2 separate regions of the Homo sapiens genome follow, and region 1 is linked to region 2. The links are contacts of gene promoters, found by promoter capture Hi-C in human tissues and cell types (Jung and others, 2019). All regions are on one chromosome and are shown on one strand. The core of a region is centred on a gene start or on the middle of the fragment in contact, and the rest is flanking DNA. Distances in the headings are between cores, read along the strand shown.

Region 1 (6,540 bases), core at 3,339-5,838, 1.3 Mb before region 2:
TCCCCAGACTTCCCAGTGATCCCCCCAGCCTGCTTTGTGCAGAACATTTACAGCAAAACCTGACCACAGCGGCCTGAGCTCTTATCTCCAAGGCAGGGGACTTTTTAAACAAAGTATTAGTGTTCTAAATTCATGATCTCCCAAGGAGGCTCCTGGCCTTCAGCACAGCAAATGCTCTGCTCCATGGCTCCCCGGTTCCCCACCCCCACCTCATCCGAGCTCCCCGCTCCGGCACTTGGGACTGAATCAGCTTGGAGTTCCCCAGCCCTGCTGCCTGCTGGCTCTGATGATACCACCAGGGACTGCAGCACTGCCTGGACCTTCTGTTGCTACATTTTATTGCAATAACATCCAACCTGATGGAACCCTGGGAGCAAGTGGCAGGGGCAGGGATGGTGGTGGTCAGGGGCTGCACACACACAGGACAGAAGGACTGAAGGACTGGGTGGAAAGTATGACCCCTCCAAGATGATCCCTCTCCAGCAGAACCCTGGCTGTGCCTCCTGAACAGCATTTGTTTATTTGCACACCTGGTGAGCTTTGTGATTAGTAAATTCAGATGCCTGGGAGGCCACCAGCGGCTCTGCTGAGGTATAACCCAGACATGATAGCTCATGTTTTCTTCCTGATCCTTCTCTCTTCACACAGTCCCATGACCAGAGCGTTCCTCCTACTCCTGTTCCTACTCCAGCCCCGCAAGACACAGTCGTGAAATGGCTAAAGTCTCCAACTTCCTAGCACCCGTCTGAGACTGGAGTACAAAAATGAGATGGGGACACAGTATCCCATGGACACCAGTGATGGAAAAAAACCCTCTGACCCTTCCGGGAGCTCTGCAAAGTCACACTAGGGGACAAGAAGGAGTGGCCAGCCTGGCACCGACCCAGCCTCAAAGCAGCCAGTGACTAAAGCACACAGCTGGTACCTCCTCACCCCCAGGGTACCAGGAGGCTTGGCTAGAACTCATGCCAGCCAGGAGAAACAGGCTGTCCCTGGGGCCCTTGGTGTCCTGGCCTCCCTACTGTTTTTCTGAAGAAGGCACCCTGCTCTGTGGGGTCTGAGGCTGGAGGCAACTTGCCACCGATGCAGTGCAGGGATGAGGGCTGAGTCACCAGCCTGCCCTAGTTCCACGTCAGCAGGAACAACAGGGACTCAAGCAGAGAAGAAAGCATTTATTTTCAAAGTCACCACAGTGACTGAGGCGACGTGGTCCCCAGGGAGCTCTCCTCCCTGCTGGCCCTCTGTGGACCGCGGCTCCATGTTCTAACAATGCCTCTGCCCATCCCGTAAGGCCCAGCAGGTGGAAGGAAAGAGGGTGGAGGTTGGGAGTGGCGGCCTGGCAACCCGGGAAGGGCAGGGAGCAGGAACATGCCCTCCCTCTTCTGCACCCGCTCAGAAGGCTCCACAGGGCCTGTCCTGCCATCCACAATCCCAGGGAGATCCTTCCTCAATGCCTGCCCTATAAATGCCCATCCACCCTACACTTGAACACCTCCAGTTACAGGGAGCTCAGTACCTACCTATGCCATTCATTCTATCTTTGGCTGTTCAAAAAAGAGGAAAGAGAGAGAAAGAAAAGATAGGAAAGACAGAGAAAGGGGGAAAGAGAGAGAGAGGAAAGAAAGAAAGAGGAAAGAATAAGACAGGAAGGAAAGAAAAAGGAAGGGAACGGAAGGGAAGGAAGAGAGGGAAGAAAGAGAGAAAGAGAGAGAAAGAGGTACAAACAAGGCAGGCTTCATGGAGCAGAGACTCAATAAGGGAGCAAAATACATCTGCAGTCAGGCTGTAGATGGATTTCTACAGGAGCGCATATCCACTCTACTCTTTCCGGAACAGAAAAGTGGAAAGAAGATGTAGCGGTGTGGGTGGGTGGCGGCTCTTTCTGGGGGCCTGGAATGTGGGGCATCAGCCCTCTTGGTTTTGAGAAGGAGACTAAGATCACCAACATCCACAGTGGAGACCGAACCACATAAGGGCTGGGGACATCGTCTCTTCTGCATCTCTAACAAAGACCCGATGCTCTAACTATGGGAACCTGTGGAAGAAGAAACAAAACTGGCTCTGGGGCCCTTTAGAGAACTGGTTTTCCATCCAGTGGTGGTTGTGAAGAAATTTCTGGAGCCAGCCTCAGCGGCCTGGGCCTGCACAGCTGAGACTGTCCCTGGAAGCTGAGTGGAAGTGGGGAGCCTCCAGGCACAGCTGGGCTCTGCTCCCCACCTCAGCCAGCAGCCCCAGGACTTCTGGGTGCTCCAGAGCTTTCTCCAGAGGGCAAATCCAGAGTATGAGGGAGCGGGGAGATGCCCAACATTGGGGGACCCCTGCCCGTCTCTGCCCCCAGCCTCGCTGACCTGAACAGGGAGGCCATGGGTGTTCAGGGGTAGAACTGTGGGCTGGCAAGCCCCCAGCCCTGGTCTCTTCCTGCCCCCCTCTCCTCACTGCCACTGACCATCTCTGGCTACATGTTGACACCTCCACAGGATGATGGAGAAGAGAGAAGAGGAACCTCTCCGCTCTGCCCAGCACACTCCAAAGAGGCTCCAGTGCAAAGGCACCGACGTTCACAGCCAAATGTGTGTGGGGGTTCCCCAGGAGTGGGACGCTTCCACTCCGTTCCAGACTGCCATGAATCGACAGAAGGTTTTATGTCACCAAATATACCCCATTAACAAATTACCCTAACACTCAGTAAAAAAATAAATAAAAATGCATGCACCCCGTGCCCTGCAGTGCCCCCATGCCGCACCCCTCTTTGCACCTGAGCCTCGGCTCGCGCTCTTGGCCTGCCGCCTTGGGAACAGAACGCTCTGCGTGGGAGGCAGACAGGAAGCGCGGGGTGCGCTGGCTGGGCCCCTCCAGACAATCTGGTATTGCTTTCCCCAGATAATGAAATCTTCCCCACCCTGAGTGTCTCTGGAAGCCAGCCGGCAGCCAGATCAACCTAAATGAACCATTTGTCCCTCCTGTGAAGTGACCTCAGGGACCTAATGGGTTTGTTATTAACACAGTCCCCCTCGCACTCTGTTCCCCCTCCTCACTTTTCTCCCCCTGCATGAGTCACTGGCCACGATGACTCGGCCCAGCCAAGGGACCTGGCCAGCTCTGGCCAGGCTATGTGAGAGACAGCACAAAGGACCAAGGCTGCCGGAACCAGGCCAGAGGCTGAGGGCCACACGGACCCCCTGGAGTGTCTGTAACTGGGGACTCCTAAGGCTGCTCCTTGGTTCTGGGGACCTGTCCACTTGGGGACAGTCTTAAGGGAGACTCTTAAAAGCAGGGAGCCAAAAGGGTGAACTAATACAGAAACACTGAGGGCCAGGGAGAACTTGAAGATGGGCTCGGCTGGGCACAGTGGCTCATGCCTGTAATCCCAGCACTTTGGGAGGCCAAGGTGGGCGGATCACCTGAGGTCAGGAATTCGAGACCAGCCTGGCCAACATGGTGAAACACCATCTCTACTAAAAATACAAAAATTAGCCGGGTGTGGTGGCAGGTGCCTGTAATCCCAGCTACTCAGGAGGCTGAGGCAGGAGGATTGCTTGAACGCAGGAGGCAGAGGTGGTAGTGAGCCAAGATTACACCACTGCACTCCAGCCTGGGCAACAGAGTGAGACTCCATCTCAAAAAAAAAAAAAAAAAAAAAAAAAAGACAGGCCCAAGGCCTGGAGAGCCAGAAGTCACCTTCCCACCTCTGGGTGGCCCACTTTGAGATTGTATCACGTCAGAGAAAGTTGCGGGAGTGTCTGTTTATAATTCATAAGCAACACTGTTTCCTTCTCCCACTAGCTCCTGGCTCTAGCAGGCCCCTGACTCGTGCCTTCCCCAGGGTCTTGGGTCCCCCCAAGCTGGACTCCCGGCTGTTGGTGGGATGACCATGTGACCTGTCACTTCCCTGCCCACCGTCCTGGGCAGCCTCTGTCACCTGGTGCATACAGAGTGGAGCTCAGCAAGGCCGGGGCCGCCGATCTCCTGCCAGCCACATCTGCCTCCTCTCACGCCACTTCTCCCCGCCTTGGTCATGCCCAGGGGCTCACACTTCCCCACAAGCCAGGTGCCAGACCTCTGTGCCTGCCCTATCCTGTTCCCTCTGCCTGGTGGGCCCCTCACACCCTCCCTGGCCTGACTCAGGCCTGATCTGTCTTCAGGTCTCAGCTCAGAGGCTGCTTCTTCTAGGAAGCCTTCCTGGGATCGTCAGATGAAGGGATTCTCCTCTGGACCCTTCTTCTATTTTCACAGCCTCAGGAACAGCCTCTAACTCAGGCCTTACTGAGTTAGTGTGGCATCCAGGAGAGCCACAAGCGTGTGACGAACGTGTTGAAGCCTTTTTAAAAGCTGAAGGAGCCCTGTGAACATACAGCAGCATCAGCTCAGACTGCGAAGGCACAGGGGAGTCAGCCTCCTTCAGCCTCGTCTGCCCCTGGCCTTCCTCTTGAGGAGGTGGGAGCCAGTCAGCTGGGATTAGGAGGTGGGCTTCATGGAGTAGAGACTCAATAAGGGAACAAAATAAATTAGAGAATTCTTTTGCTGCAAGGAACCTAGACAAGGAGCACCCAGTCAGAGGAGGAAGGAAGAGACCGGCAGCAGACCTCCCTTGCCCCAGCAGTCCTGCAAGCCAGATGGGCCAACTTCTCAGCACAGCTGTTCTCCAGCACAGAGAAATTTCTCACCTTCAGCAACAGGGTGGGAACATTCCCAGACAGGGCCACGGCTACTCTGGTCACAGGGACCACGGAGTCTGAGTCTCTGTGGCTTGTCCCATCCATGTGGCCACAGATCTTGAGCACACATCTGGAGCTACAGAGCCCAAAGGGCAGGGCAGGGCAGGGAATCTGCCTGATTGGTGAAGGCCACCCCACCATCTGGAGTACAGGCCTCTGCCCCCAAATCCACATGGAGCCTCCGATACGGGGCATCGATTTCAAGGAGGTGAATGTGGACATTCAAGGCCAGTGAATGGCCAGGTGTCAACACATCGACAGGCCCTTGGCCCCTCCCCCAACACTGAGGGTAGGAAACAAATGGGGTCTACATGGTGCATATGGTCTCCAGAGCCAGCAAGGTGTGCAAGACCCGGCAGCTGAGAAAACTGACCACTTGGCCGGGCGCGGTGGCTCACGCCTGTAATCCCAGCACTTTGGGAGGCCGAGGCGGGCGGATCACGAGGTCAAGAGATCGAGACCATCCTGGCTAACACGGTGAAACCCTGTCTCTACTAAAAATACAAAAAATTAGCCGGACGCGGTGGCAGGCGCCTGTAGTCCCAGCTACTCCGGAGGCTGAGGCGGGAGAATGGCGTGAACCTGGGAGGCGGAGCTTGCAGTGAGCCGAGATAGCGCCACTGCACTCCAGCCTGGGCGAAAGAGCGAGACTCCATCTCAAAAAAAAAAAGAAAAGAAAAGAAAAGAAAACTGACCACTCGATTATGAATAAGCTAGAACATTTATCCAGAAAAAAAAAACAGCTTTGTCCAATTGGGGACCTAAAATCTCAGGACCTATGTCCCCTTCCTATAGAGCCACATCACTTTCCTAATGCCCACCCTCGATCCCACCTGCCTGCCAAGCTTCAGGTATCCAGAACACAGCATGACAGCAAGCTCTGTGATTCCCACAGGTTTTCCCAACCTACCCCAGGCATAGCTACATCTTTAGTTCTGAGCAGCAGGGAGTGACATGCAGATGGTCACCCAGACAGAGAAAGACCTTCAAAAGGAGGGCAGGCTCTGTCCCGCAGGCAGTACCTATTGACACAGACATCAGTAGGCAAATCTTTCAGGAAGATTTTCATTAAGAAAGAACGAAAGAGGCCCAGTGCGGTGGCTCACGCCTGTAATCCCAGCACTTTGGGAGGCCAAGGCGGGTGGATCACCTTAGGTAAGGAGTTCGATACCAGCCTGGCCAATGTGGTGAAACCCCATCTCTACTAAAAATACAAAATTTAGCTGGACGTGGTGGTGGGCACCTGTAATCCCAGCTACTTGGGAGGCTGAGGCAGGAGAATCACTTGATCCCAGGAGGCAGAGGTTGCAGTGAGCCAGGATCACACCACTGCACTCCAGCCTGGGGGGCAACAGAGAGAGACCCCGTCTCAAAAAAAAAAAAAAAAAAAAAAAGGATGAAAGACAAACAAGGCTGAAACTGGCAGGCTGGTACATTTCTAACAACCTACCCTAGGCCGGGCGCAGTGGCATAATGCCAGCATTTTGGGAGGCCGAGGAGGGCAGATTGCGAGGTCAGGAGATCGAGACCATCCTGGCTAACACGGTGAAACCCCGTCTCTACTAAAAATACAAAAAATTAGCCGGGTGTGGTGGCGGGCGCCTGTAGTCCCAGCTATTCTGGAAGCTCAGGCAGGAGAATGGTGTGAACCAGGGAGGCGGAGCTTGCAGTGAGCGGAGATCGCATCACTCCACGCCAGCCTGGGCGACAGAGCGAGACTCCGTCTCAAAAAAAAAAAGAAACAAAAAACAAAAACAACAAAAAAAAAACAACCTACCCTAGTAGGGAGCAGGAGGTAAGGCCTGATATGTAGTGTTTGCCAATT
Region 2 (6,125 bases), core at 2,121-4,620:
TTTTGGATTTTATTTTGTTTTGTTTTGTTTGGAGGCGAGAGGCAGAGTGGGCTGGGACTGAGCTAGGGACCTTTAGGCACGCTCGCTGGGACTCCGGAGTGGATCCTTGCAAAGGACCCAAGATCCACAGCCTGGACCTGAGCCAGCTGCACCAACCAACCAAACCGTGGCTTGGAGGCGAGCGCAGTGGAGGCGCCTGAAGTTGGCTGCAGGAGACAGACGGTCACTTCACGCACCCGATCCCTGGCTGGCGACTCTGAGCGAGTTACTTAGGAACTCAACTCTTCTGTATATTGGGCACTTTGTCCTATCCCACCCTCACGGAGGGCATTAAGCTCAAGCGAGATGAACGCGCACAAACGCGTCGTACTGGGAAACGCTGCGCGTTGTCAGGCACGGGCGGCGCTGGAGAGCCACATTCTCCAGGCTTCCAGGCCCCAGGACGCATCTAACCGAGGGACACCACGGTCCCCCATTCTTATTCCTCTTTTTCCTCCTCCGCGCCCGCTTGTCTTCCACTGCCTTCTTAGTGTCCTGTCCCACTCTGCGCGTCCCTTCTTGGTCCCCAGTCCCGCCTCCCGCTCCATCCCCCGCGTGGATGCCCATCTCCCAGGGAGGCCAAGGCGCTGGCTCACCTGTCCAGGGAGACGGCGGCCAGCGTGAAGCTGCTGGCGTGCATGGTGAGGAAGATGAGGAAGTGCACCGCCTTGCACAGCAGCGAGCCGAACACCCAGCCGTCCAGGGTGTAGATGGTGGCCTGGAAGGGCACGCAGCACAGGATGAAACACAGGTCGGCCACGCCCAGGTTAAGGATGAACAGGTTGGTAGTGCTGACCGCCTGGCCGCCGCGCAGCAGCACCGCCAGCACCAGCGTGTTGCCCACGGTGCCCACGAGGAAGATGAGCGCGAAGAGCAGGGGCACGATGACCGCCTCGGGGTGCCAGCCTCCCCCGCCGCCCGCCTGGCTCGCGTTCCCGGCCCCTGGGCAGCCCGAGACGTTCATGGTGCCGCTGACCCCGAGGCTGCCCGGGCTCCTGCAGCCGTCTGGGTCTCCGCGAGCGGGAAGCTCCCGGGGCTGCGGCCGCTGCAACTCCTAGTGCGACTCTGCCGGGCTGAAGGCGGAGGGAGCCTTGCCTCATCTGGGGCGGGGATGGGGGTGCGCTGGGGTCAGGAGGAGGAGCAAGAGACAGGAGGGCGAGGTTGTCCCCAGCAGCGGCCGGCGGCGCTGGGGGAAGGGCTGCGGAGTGGTCCCGGCGCGCATTCCACGGCGCAGGCGGAGAGTGGCGCTTGTACCTGCTTCCGAGCTCCAGCCCCCGCAGTCGGGGGTTCTGGGCTGACCAGGCGGACTGACTTCCCCGGCAGACGCCGGAGCGGTGGAGGGGTCGACCCCGGACCCTGCGTGTGCGCCGCGCCGCAGGGAGCACGGACCTCGCACTCCGCGCGCCTCGGCGCTTCCCTGCAGCCTGGCAGGGGTGCAGGATATCCCGGGACCGTCGAGGGGCTGGGGTGCCCTCAAAAGAGGACCCCTGGGAGATCGGGGGGAGGAAACGCGGGGCGGAGGCGGATGAGGGGCCCCGGAGTCTGGCTCTTTCGCCCAGGCTAGAGTGCAGTGGCGCGATCTCGGCTCACTGCAACCTCCGTCTCCCGGGTTCAAACGGTTCTCCTGCCTCGGCCTTCTGAGGGGCTGGGACTACAGGCGTCCGCCACAACGTCTGGCTAGTTTTTTGTATTTGTATTTGTTGAGACAGAGTCTCACTCTGTCGCCCAGGCTGGAGTGTAGTGGCATGATATCGGCTCACTGCAACCTCCGCCTCCCGGGTTCAAGCGATCCTCCTGCCTCAGCCTCCCGAGTAGCTGGGATGACGGGCGCCTGCCACCACGCCTGGCTTATTTTCGTATTTTTAGTAGAAATGGGGTTTCACCATGTTGGCCAAGCTGGTCTCAAACTCCTGACCTCAAGTGATCCGCCCACCTCGGCCTCCCAAAGTGCTGGGATTACAGGCGTAAGCCACCGAGCCCGGCCACCTTTTTCCCTTCTCTTACCCATTGAACGTTTTCCCTCCAATTCAATCCAATATACTGAGCATCTATTGTGTCAGGCTCTGTCTTTGGCTCCATGCCTCAGTTTCCTCAGCTGTAACAAGGAAATGGTAACACTTCCTTCTAAGAGGGATCTGCTGAGAAAGGAATGAGATGTATGGGAGAGTTAGTTAAATCTGAATGCATCAGATCCTTATTCTTTTTCTCCTGACCTTATTCCGTATACCTTGAGGAAATTCAAAATAGAGTTCAGGGCCGGGCGCGGTGGTTCACGCCTGTAATCCCAGCACTTTGGGAGGCCGAGGCGGGCGGATCACGAGGTCAGGAGATCGAGACCATCCTGACCAACATGGTGAAACCCCGTCTCCACTAAAAATACAAAAATTAGCGGGACGTGGTGGCAGGCGCCTGTAATCCCAGCTACTCGGGAGGCTGAGGCAGGAGAATGGCTTGAACCCAGGAGGCAGAGGTTGCAGTGAGCCGAGATCACACCATTGCACTCCAGCCTGGGCAACAAGAGCGAAACTCTATCTAAAAAAAAAAAAAAAATCCGTCATTTAATCTTCCTAACAACCACTTAAATTGGTTATCCCCATTTCATAGATGAAGGAACAGATTTACAGGGAGATTAAGTTACGTGCCCAACATGTCCCTGCCGCTAATGACGGAGCGGGGATTGGAATCCCAGGTCTCAGACTCTAGAAGGTGCAAAGCAAAAATTCATATTTTCCCATGTCTCAACACTTCTCCCTCTTTGGACTGACGGCCCCAAAGTGCAGTGGTCCACGGCCCCAAGCGGTCTGAGAAAGTCACCCCGTTAGGACACCGTCTGCTGACTGCGCAGCGCTTCCTCCGGCTTGGCGTTCTTACGGCCAGCCTCAGAGGAAAGGGCAGGCAGAGGCGGGTCCCTTACGGACGGGGTGTCCCGTTCCGGTAGGGAGGACCCCATCTCTTGAGTCCCTGGGGATGCAGACACCCCGAAATCCAGTATCTTTGGTCTCCTGCTTTCTGCTGGGCAGGACGTGAACCAGATCCCCAGTCCAGGATGCAGGACCTGGGGTCCACCTCCGGTTCTCCGCCCTTAGTGGGTGGGAGGTGGGACTGCCCCCTGAGATCTCAGCAGCCACGGTCTCACTGCGGCCTCAAGTCCCCACCTAGCCAGCCACAATTCCGGACCCGGGATGACAGGATCCCTCGCGCAGGCGCGCTCCAGCACATGGCGCCCTGCTGCAGCAAGGGCCGACGGCGGCGGAGTCCGCCGCTATCCCATCAGCCCGGCCAGGCAGGTCCAGCTCTCACCCGCCCAGGTCGTCCCGCCTCCCCTATCCCGTCTTGCTCTGCGGCGCAGGGGCAAGATGGCTGCTGAGAAGCAGGTCCCAGGCGGCGGCGGCGGCGGCGGCAGTGGCGGCGGCGGTGGCAGTGGCGGCGGCGGTAGCGGCGGTGGACGTGGTGCCGGAGGGGAAGAAAATAAAGAAAACGAACGCCCTTCGGCCGGATCGAAGGCAAACAAAGAATTTGGGGATAGCCTGAGTTTGGAGAGTATCCTAGAGTAATCGGGCCTAACTCGCAATGATTACGTGTCGAACTGGAGGGCTGGGGGCGGGAGAGGCGGCGGGTCCCGACAAGTCCTGGCAGGAGAGGCCGAGGGTTGCAGTTTCTCTCGCCCTTACCTTTTGGTGCTCAGAATTCCGGGGGGGGTCTGTCTCTCGACTAGTCTTTCCTCGTGTCCCCCTCGCCGTCCTGGCTAGGTCCGTTTCTTCCAGTGGCACTGGGATATCAGGCAGGTTTCCCCTGGTGCCCCGCAGTTGTCCAGTTGGAGGGCTTGTGACCAAGTGACACCTTGAGCACCTTGCTTTGGCACCTTGAGCCACTGAACTGGGGAGAGGAAACTGCAGTCTTGACATTTGGCTTAATACTCTTGTCTGACAGTCGTCATAGACTGAGTAGTAAAACCTACAGCTCGATACTTTGAAAGTGGAGGTAAAGATTGACTCAGGAAAAGCTTGTTGCCCATTTTGATTGTAAGTTACCGTAGTTAATATCGATTGTGTCATTTTTTTCTGATCGGTCTGTAGGCATTTTATCTTGCTGACAGTCATTCATATAAGCTGGAGGAATCGGTTTCTAGTTTCCATCAGTGTGTATCTCAACCAAGTGCTTGTGGTACTAGTTTGTGACCTTTTGAAATGAATAACAAATGGAGAAAACGTAGGCGAGTTTCTGAAATAACACATTCAACTTGACATCTTAATGTGCTTAAAGTTCTCAGGCGCTTGGAGTTAAATATTTTGAATTACTGGTAATAGTTCCAAGTAGACGCTAGCGAGCCCTGATTTTACTGAGACCTTTATATCTCTTTGTCCCGTTTTAGTAATTTAAAGAGTCCTTTTAGCGTTCACTATTTTAAAATATGTCTCTAGAGAAGTGTTGAGGAAACATTAAAACTATACCTATATAGATGAAGGTCATTGGACTTTCTAAAGATTAGTACATAATCTTAAATATTTTAAGATTATTAAAAGGAGAATCTGGCCATTCTTCTTTTGAAAGAAAAACCTTAATACTTTTATGCAAACTGTAGCCTAGCTTGGTTGACATGTGCTAATCATAGACTCTCTAAGCATCACAGCTGTTAAGGAAAGTTAGATTTGGCAGGTGTTGGAGATTATGCAAATGGAGGCTTAGTACATGTCATTTATAACCTGAATCTGAATGAATAAAATGTGGGGTCTAGGTGTTAATTGGTGTGAAGCACCCCAATTATAGTCAGCATTTAGAATCCATCAGCTTAATTTAAACTGGGTTTTGGCAGTTTCCAGTGGCCAGTAGTGCCCTCCTTTTTCAGTTTGCAAGTAGTAACAGTTCAGGCAATCAGTTTTCCTGTAGGTTAGCCCTGTCCTGTGACAAGATAGATATTGAAAATGGTTACAAAAGATCTCACCAGTGTACTAAATATTTCACAAATTTGTGTGTGTGTGTGTGTGTGTGTGTGTGTGCATGTGCATGTGTGACTGAATCTCACTCTCACCTAGGCTGGAGTGCAGTGGCGCTGTCTTGGCTCATTGCAACCTCTGCCTTCCAAGTTCAAGCGATTCTCCTGCCTCAGCCTCCCGAGTAGCTGGGATTACAGGTGCTAGCCATTGCGCCCGGCTAATTTTTTGTGTTTTTAGTAGAGACGGGGTTTCACCATGCTGGCCAGGCTGGTCTTGAACTCCTGACCTCAGGTGATACACCCGCCTCGGCCTCCCACAGTGCTGGGATTACAGGCATGAGCCACCGTACCTGGCTATATTTCACAAATGTTTAATGTGTTGTGGTTTGACACAGATATAGACTGATGGTACAGGTTTTGATTTGTTTGGATTCTTGCTATGGTAAGATTTTCCTTAATCTCGACTCTAGTTCTTCAGATTATTAAGGAATCCCAGCAGCAGCATGGTTTACGGCATGGAGATTTTCAGAGGTACAGGTTAGTATCACATACAAGATGTTTGGAAATCATTGTGGGACTTGCTTTGCTTTTGTTAATATCCTGTTTACTCTGCTATATCAGCAAATATGCTAGAAAGTCTAGAGCATTGTTTTTTTTGTTTGTTTGTTTGCTTTGTTTTTTTTTTTTTTTTTGAGATGGAGTCTCGCTCTGTCGCCAGGCTGGAGTGCAGTGGCGCAATGTTGGCTCACTGCAACCTCCACCTCCTGGGTTCCAGCGATTCTCCTGCCTCAGCCTCCTGAGTAGCTGTTTTTTTTGTTTGTTTGTTTGTTTGTTTTTTGAGATGGAGTCTCACTCTGTCACCCAGGCTGGAGTGTAGTGGCGCAATCCTGGCTCACTGCAGCCCATGCCTCCCGGGTTCAGGTGATTCTCCTGCTTCTGCCTCCAGAGTACCTGGGATTATAGGCATGTGCCACCATGCCTGGCTAATTTTTGTATTTTTAGTAGAGATGGGGTTTCGCCATGTTGGCCAGGCTGGTCTCAAACTCCTGACCTCAGGTGATCCACCCACCTCAGCTTCCCAAAGTGTTGGAATTACAGGCGTGAGCCACCGTGTCTGGCCTATTTCTTTTTTTTTTTTTCTTTTAAATAATCT

What was found. The method cuts DNA at HindIII sites, captures the fragments that hold promoters and counts their contacts. A contact is called where the count stands out against the background at its distance.
Region 1: a fragment that was not itself captured here is called in contact with the fragment with the promoter of SRP68 in region 2 in 1 of the 25 tissues and cell types used here (spleen).

Annotation. Positions count from the first base shown.
Region 1 is chr17:77,360,485-77,367,024 of GRCh38, reverse strand. The region is part of intron 2 of SEPTIN9 (septin 9); the gene reads right to left. Among named protein-coding and RNA genes, the nearest start is that of MIR4316, 33 kb to the left of the region's middle. RefSeq lists enhancers at 2,052-2,708, 2,884-3,178, 2,709-3,367. The HindIII fragment of the contact is 6,488 bases long and covers 1,345-6,540 here.
Region 2 is chr17:76,069,762-76,075,886 of GRCh38, reverse strand. SRP68 (signal recognition particle 68) reads left to right here and starts at 3,370. Exons shown (of 16, transcript NM_014230.4): 1 at 3,370-3,579; 2 at 5,443-5,509. The coding sequence starts at 3,396. It overlaps GALR2 (galanin receptor 2), which reads right to left and starts at 1,106. Exons shown (of 2, transcript NM_003857.4): 1 at 636-1,106. The coding sequence starts at 1,003. RefSeq lists enhancers at 160-1,041, 2,428-3,255, 3,208-3,257, 3,256-4,083. The HindIII fragment of the contact is 13,843 bases long and covers 1-6,125 here.